2 separate regions of the Homo sapiens genome follow, and region 1 is linked to region 2. The links are contacts of gene promoters, found by promoter capture Hi-C in blood cells and fetal thymus (Javierre and others, 2016). All regions are on one chromosome and are shown on one strand. Each heading gives the region's core, a stretch centred on a gene start or on the middle of the fragment in contact. The rest is flanking DNA. Distances are from core to core; before and after follow the strand shown.

Region 1 (3,437 bases), core at 925-3,424, 580 kb before region 2:
ACTGGTCTCAACAAATCTTTTATAACCATAGGGCTGTGTACCCAAAAATCAATCAGCATATGATCCTGAAGGGTACAGAATTAGAATTTCAGTTTAACTTGGAGGCTCATTAGGCTCTTTCCGTGAAATATAAAGAGATTGATTGGGAAAACTAAAGCTGAAGAACTGGAATAGGATCGCTGGCTGGATTTAGATGACTCTGAGCACTTGGAACTCCCCAAACTTCCTAAGTCTCCTTTAGCAGTTGCATTAGTTATTTACTGATGCACAACAAATTACCCCAAAACTCTGTGGCTTGAAACAACAAGCACTCATTATCTCGTGGTTTCTGAGGGTTGGGAATCTGGGCCCAGCATAGCTGGGTGCTTCTGACTCAGGGTCTCTTGCAAGGTGGCCATCAAGCTGTAGCTGGGGCTATAGTCATCTCAAGTTTCAGCTGGTGAAGGATTCACTTCCCAACTCACAAGGCTATTGGCAGGCCTTGGGTCTTCACCGTCTGTTAATCAGATATAATCAGTTTCTTGCTACATGGATCTCTCCCAAAGGAAACTCACAACATGGCAGCTGGCTTCCCCTAGAACAAGGGAGCGAAAGAGCCAGAGAGGATGTCCAAGACAGAAGTCACAATCTCTTTTTAACCTAATCTCAGAAATGACATTCCATCACTTTTTCCATATTTTATTTATTATAAGTGAGTCACTAGGCCCAGCCCACACACAAGGAGAGGGTGTAAATACCAGGAGGTGGGGATTACTGGGGGCTTCCTCAAAAGCAGCTTGGCATGGCAACAGAAGTGGTCTCTCCTCTCTTTGCTGTGGTTACTCCTGCCTCGCTTGAAGACATTGTAAGAACCTCATGTGACTTTGCTAAGTTAAATTAGGGAGGCTAAGGCAGAGAAGACAAAATTAGGGGAAAGGCGTGGAGGTGAGGTCATGAGATCCCTTGAGATCTAATCTTAAAAGGCCTTCAAGATCAACTTGTTAGTACTGGACCCTGGTTTCAAAGCAGTATGAGTCTATTTTTTTTGAAAATATGATATAAATCCAGTTTTAAGTATGTACTTATTTATATGAAACAAATTTTTTTATAAAATAATGTCAAGTTTATTATTGCTATTTCCCTTCTAGTAAATTGACAGAACAGTGACAGACATAGTACAAGCTTCTTGTGTACCAAAATGACGACTGCAGTTTAGGCTAACAGTAGTGTCCCCTAGGACATCTGAACAACTTCCCAGCTATATTTAGCCATGCAAAAGCAATGTCATCTTCTTAACTACTATTCAAGTGTCTTTGGCCATGGATGTATTTTTTAAGCTAATTCTACCAGAAAAATATAATATTGGCTGGGGATAGTTCATTTCTCTCCTTATCTGTATTCAATGGAACTATGCTTAAATTATAACACATGTGATTTGGGGTAAAAATTAGGAGGAATATGCTGATGAAATAAGGTATAAAACATAGGGAAATGCTACAAATCAGCTTCTGTAATCATTTCTTCTGTAAAGTTTTAGGAACATGATGGATGGCTTGTTACAATTGACCTAAGCCAATCTAACCACTTCACCATAGTCAGTTTCTCTTTGGTGACTCTGGACGCCTCCAAATATTAGAAGTAGGTGAGAGCTATTATCTCCTCCCTTATATCTTTGCTACCAGGTACACTATAATGAAAGCAAGGCTTAGACTTAATTCTGCTCCATGTACAAACATTTATTGTCAGATTCTTACACCCTATTCACGTAAGAGCTAAGATGCCTGTACAATATTTCCAGCCAACTACATGTCTCAGAAGCTTTCAGATCGCCAAAGAAATACTGTTAAATATCACTATGCTAATTAACAAACTCTATTGCAGATTTAGATAGCAATATTTGAAATGCTGTAGTCAGCCATTTCTCTAGTGTGGATTTCTGGATAGTCTTTTAAATGCTAATTAACCACTTATGGAGTTGGGATTTCTGGTCAGAAATACTCTGACTTACACACTGAAGTGTTTTCAATAAATTACCATCGATTTAACAAAGCCTCAGCCTAAAATTAACTAAATAAATCCTGCTTGAGAAAAGAAAGTTTGACTAGTTGACATCCTGTGGTCTCCCTCTTCTTGTCTGGTGATTCTTGACTGCCTTACAACCTAGACTTGGGCAGTTTCCAGAAAGAGCTTTACATTGTCATCTTAAGAAGCCTGATAAAAGTAGCAATTTTAAGTCCGGCCATCAGAGGTCAGTAAACCCCAGCTTATTCAGTATTTTCCTTTTGAAAACTTTTTCTAAAACAAGAAGAGTTATAAATTAATTAACATGCATTATTAGGAGAGTTTTCCCTCAATCTTTAAAGAAGTAAAAGAATAACAATTCTCAAAAGAAACCTAATGTGCTCAGCTCATGAGTAGAAGACATCCCTCACTGCCCCCCATCTTACATAGAAATAGCTTAAAATTTAAGGTCTCCAAAAGCTCCAATAGAGTAAGCCTAGATTTGAAACAGGGAGCCAACCATCATCATTTCCATTTGCAGGAAAAAAGAAAAAAAACAAACTAAAGCTTTTAAAAGAATGTAGATTTCTAAGCTAAAATATAATTCCTGTTATTTGTATATGTTACATTAGGTTCTCAACTTTTAGTTATTTTAATTTCGCAGTGATCTGTGAGGTGTATAGGGAGGTGTTATTATCTTCATAGACTAGGAAAGCAACACACAACACTGTGTAACTAGCCTGAGTCTAGTTTCTGACCCATAGCTTTCAATATATTTACCTTCTCTAGACTAAACACATACTTATAATAAAGATACTTTATATCTTTATTATACCACACATGTGCTTATTTATGTCTTTTGGCCCAATGACAGTGACATTGTAACCTCCTTTGAGGCAGCAATCCAGTGTCTTCTCTATCCCTTCACCATGACTTGAGTACAGTTAATCAGAAAATTGAATTTGCTAACCAAATAACTAAATTGAATTTGTCTGGTTTTTTTAGCCTTCCTGTACACTCTGTAGAACACACACACACACACACACACACACACACACACACACACACACACACACACACGAGCACAATGGTGGGCATCCACTGCAACCTGGAGAAAGGCCTACTTGCATTTAAATGAAGCCTAAACAACATCAAAGAAACCCACCTATTATATTCTAGGCCACAGCCAGGCATTTTCATGGACTAGAATAGATCTTCAAACAAGTTGATTTTGTACTCCAGCAACAGAAACACACAAGCACTCATCCCTAATATACAGATACTTTTTATAAATTACAAATATGTATATGTGTTAATATTGACTGAAAATAGAAAATGGATATTATGAAACGAAGATGAAATTTAAATGTATTTAAATAATTATATATTTTATTTCCTTTATAATGGCACAGAAATATTTTTGATTGCTGCATTATAATATTTTGTGATTTCAGTAT
Region 2 (3,212 bases), core at 618-3,117:
TTGGTATTTTTGACATACATTAGAGCACAAAAGTAGTATAGTCTCCTATAGTCTCAAGTACCATAAAGAAGTAAATACTTCTCATGAAATTTTAAAAAGTTAACTAAAAATTTTTCTCAGTATTAACTGTACTCTTAATTATATAGTTTAGAAACTATATACTGACTAATTTAAACTCTGTTTTGAAGAGCCTCTGATTTTCAAGATGATAGTGGTCTATAAATCTACAACTTTTAGGTATAATTGCTTTAAATACTTCAGAAAAAATACTAGGATAAAGTTTAAGTGCAAATATACCTCCTCAAGTATATGGGCTCTGGATACTACGAAGATTAAAACATGACTATTAATTGTATTTGCACCAGATCTGTTCTAACTTGATTTGAATAATGCAAATTGAATTAAAATGAAATTAACAGCCTGCCTATATATTTAAATCATACCGACTAAGTCAAAATTTTTCTTACTCATCTTAAGAGTAATTTATTAGACATTTTACTTGGGATAGAATGCTGGAATAACAGTGATCCTCTGAGGAAATCAGTCTTTTTTTAAAAAAAGTCTTCCACAAACTATAAAACCAATAAAAATTTGTATTATTGGAGAATAATTAAGGACTTACCACGGTATCAACAATGATATTAGCAACAGTAAATATTTTAAATATTTACAGTGATATTCTAATACGATTGGCCTATGGTAAGTCTCCAACATAAAAATATCCAGGTCATCATTTTTCTTTAAACACCAATTTCCCCACAGTAGCTAATCTGCCTAATGTACATCTCCCATTAAAACCCACATGCTGGCCGGGCGCAGTGGCTCACGCCTGTAATCCCAACACTTGGAGAGGCCGAGGCGGGAGAACCCCGAGGTCAGGAGTTCGAGACCAGCCTAGCCAACATGATGAAACCCTGTCTCTACTAAAAATACAAAAATTAGCCAGATGTGGTGTTGGGCACCTGAAATCTCAGCTACTCGGGTGGCTGAGGCAGGAGAATCGCTTGAACCCAGGAGGCAGAGGTTGCAGTAAGCCGAGACCACACCATTGCACTCCAGCTGGGATAACAAGAGCAAAAGTCCATCTCAGGAAAAACAAACAGACAAACAAAAAAAACCCACTTGCCAGCCTTCCTAACCCTACCATGTGCACCTCTGCCTTTACCCACCACTTTCACTATACCACTTCTCAATATGCACACAGAGCATTATTTACTTCTGTGCATAATGTTATAAAACTATTGGGTGTTTTGATAAGACTGTTCAAAATCAGGGAAAAAGCTGTGGGAAACAGATGTAATTGAGGAGCGCTTATGCTAAGGGCAAATTTCCAGCAAAGCTGGATAGCCTAAGTGAAATCCACTCTTGCCCCCGATCCTTAATCTGACCCCAAAAATCTTAATTTCATTTCATAACACTCTGAAATCCCACCAGTTACAGATTTACTGGTATCCCTTTTAAAAAATGTAAAGTATATGAAAGTTAAAGAGATTATTTACTATTTGGACTCTGTAAATTAATTTAATAGGACTACTTTCCTCATAGATTAGCTGAGATCAACAGCACTACTGGAACTGGAAATGCAGATTAAAGGATCACTGAAGCAAGCACTGGTTACATATGTAATACTTGGGAGTAAGTGGCTAACGTGGAAACCTGGTGATACCATGGTAGCACACTGTAGCAGGAAGAACATGGGCTCCTGAACACTCCTGGATTTTAATCTGGTTCTATCACCTTTCCTGTGACCTTGGGCAAGTAACTTAACCTCTTCACATCTCAATTAGCTCTACTATCAAATAAGATAATATTTCCCCACAAGGTTGTTATGTAAGATAGAATGACACAAGTGCCTTGCATATAACAGATTCTTAAAAAAAAAAAAAAAAAAAAGCCAGTTTACCTCTTTTCCATGTTCATTATTGAGGCAAGAACAAAAGGCACCAAGGAAGAGAAAGGAGTGGACTGGGTAGAAAAGAAGGATGCCAAAGAGAAACTCCTGAAAATTCCTCCTTGAAAATCAGGTTCAATCAAGAGAAGGTAAGAAAACATTTTTGTTTTCTTTTCTCTACTTCACTCTCATTCTTTTTTCATGATCATACTGCCTTAATCCCAAGACTCAAAATTCATACGGTACAACTAAATACAGAAGACTATGTTATGAACTGTTCGTATTATATTAAAGAGAAAGTAGATCACAGAAGGTGGACTGAGAACAAATCTTTCATTCAATACAATGGAACAAATATTACTGAATGCTTTTTATGGTGTGTCTCAGGTGATTAGCAGGAAGTGGAGGAGAATGCGAAGATGAGTAAGAAAAAATTCCTTGCCTTTAAGGAGTCAGTAGTGTTAAGCTTTCTGATTTCAGAGAATTTTTGTAGCATTCGTCTCTGGGAAATACAGTCAGTTCATAAGTTATGGACTTTTGCCCATTCTGTTTCATTATGAATAGCATATGTTAGGGCATGAGGAAGAGATGTTACAGAAAACTGATGGCTTTTACAATAAAGATTCTACTTTTACTATTAGTCAAATTTTTGTTTATTATTAAATTTTTAATACAAAAAATTACCTGCCAAAATTTCAGTGTTTCGTGCAGCAATTGTTTTAACTTTTATTATTCCTGATTCAGCAGCCTGCAAGAATAAAAATAATTAGAACACAAAATTTACTGCCAAAATGAATTATCTATGGAAAATAAGTCATATGTGATAGACAAAATATCAAGCACAAAGTCAGTCACTACCCTACCACCTTTTTAATTTTCAAACCATCAGATACTAAGCCCAGTAGTGACATATACGTTAAATGTAATAAAACATGATTAATTTGATTATTCACATGCAAACTCTGAATGCACTACAACATGTTGCCTTCCTCTGCCTTAAGGCATTATCTGGAATACCTCAATCCCCTGCAAAGTTAAATTTTCCGAGAATAAAAATAACAAACAAAAACAAAATCTACTGAAAATAATTAGGCTCCTTTTCCCCATTTCAAGCCTCCTCTCTCTCCACCACACACAAAAAAATTATAGAACACTGCAAAATCAAGTAAAACTACTGTGTTGGATTTATTTATTTATTGTTGATGGAGTTTTTTGCTCTTGTTGCCCAGGCTGGAGTCCAATGGCACGATCTTGGCTCACTACAACCTCCGCCTCCCTGGTTCAAGCCATTCTCCTGCCTCAGCCTCCCAAGTAGCTGGGA

What was found. The method cuts DNA at HindIII sites, captures the fragments that hold promoters and counts their contacts. A CHiCAGO score of 5 or more calls a contact.
Region 1: a contact is called between a fragment that was not itself captured here and the fragment with the promoter of MON2-AS1 in region 2, in 4 of 17 cell types (M1 macrophages, endothelial precursors, erythroblasts and 1 more). The highest score is 7.0, in M1 macrophages.

What each region holds. Positions count from the first base shown.
Region 1 is chr12:63,067,836-63,071,272 of GRCh38, reverse strand. No RefSeq gene overlaps it. Among named protein-coding and RNA genes, the nearest start is that of AVPR1A, 82 kb to the left of the region's middle. The HindIII fragment of the contact is 750 bases long and covers 1,800-2,549 here.
Region 2 is chr12:62,483,597-62,486,808 of GRCh38, reverse strand. MON2-AS1 (MON2 antisense RNA 1) reads left to right here and starts at 1,867. Exons shown (of 2, transcript NR_186172.1): 1 at 1,867-2,040. MON2 (MON2 regulator of endosome-to-Golgi trafficking) reads right to left here. Exons shown (of 35, transcript NM_015026.3): 2 at 2,576-2,639. The HindIII fragment of the contact is 7,471 bases long and covers 1-2,359 here.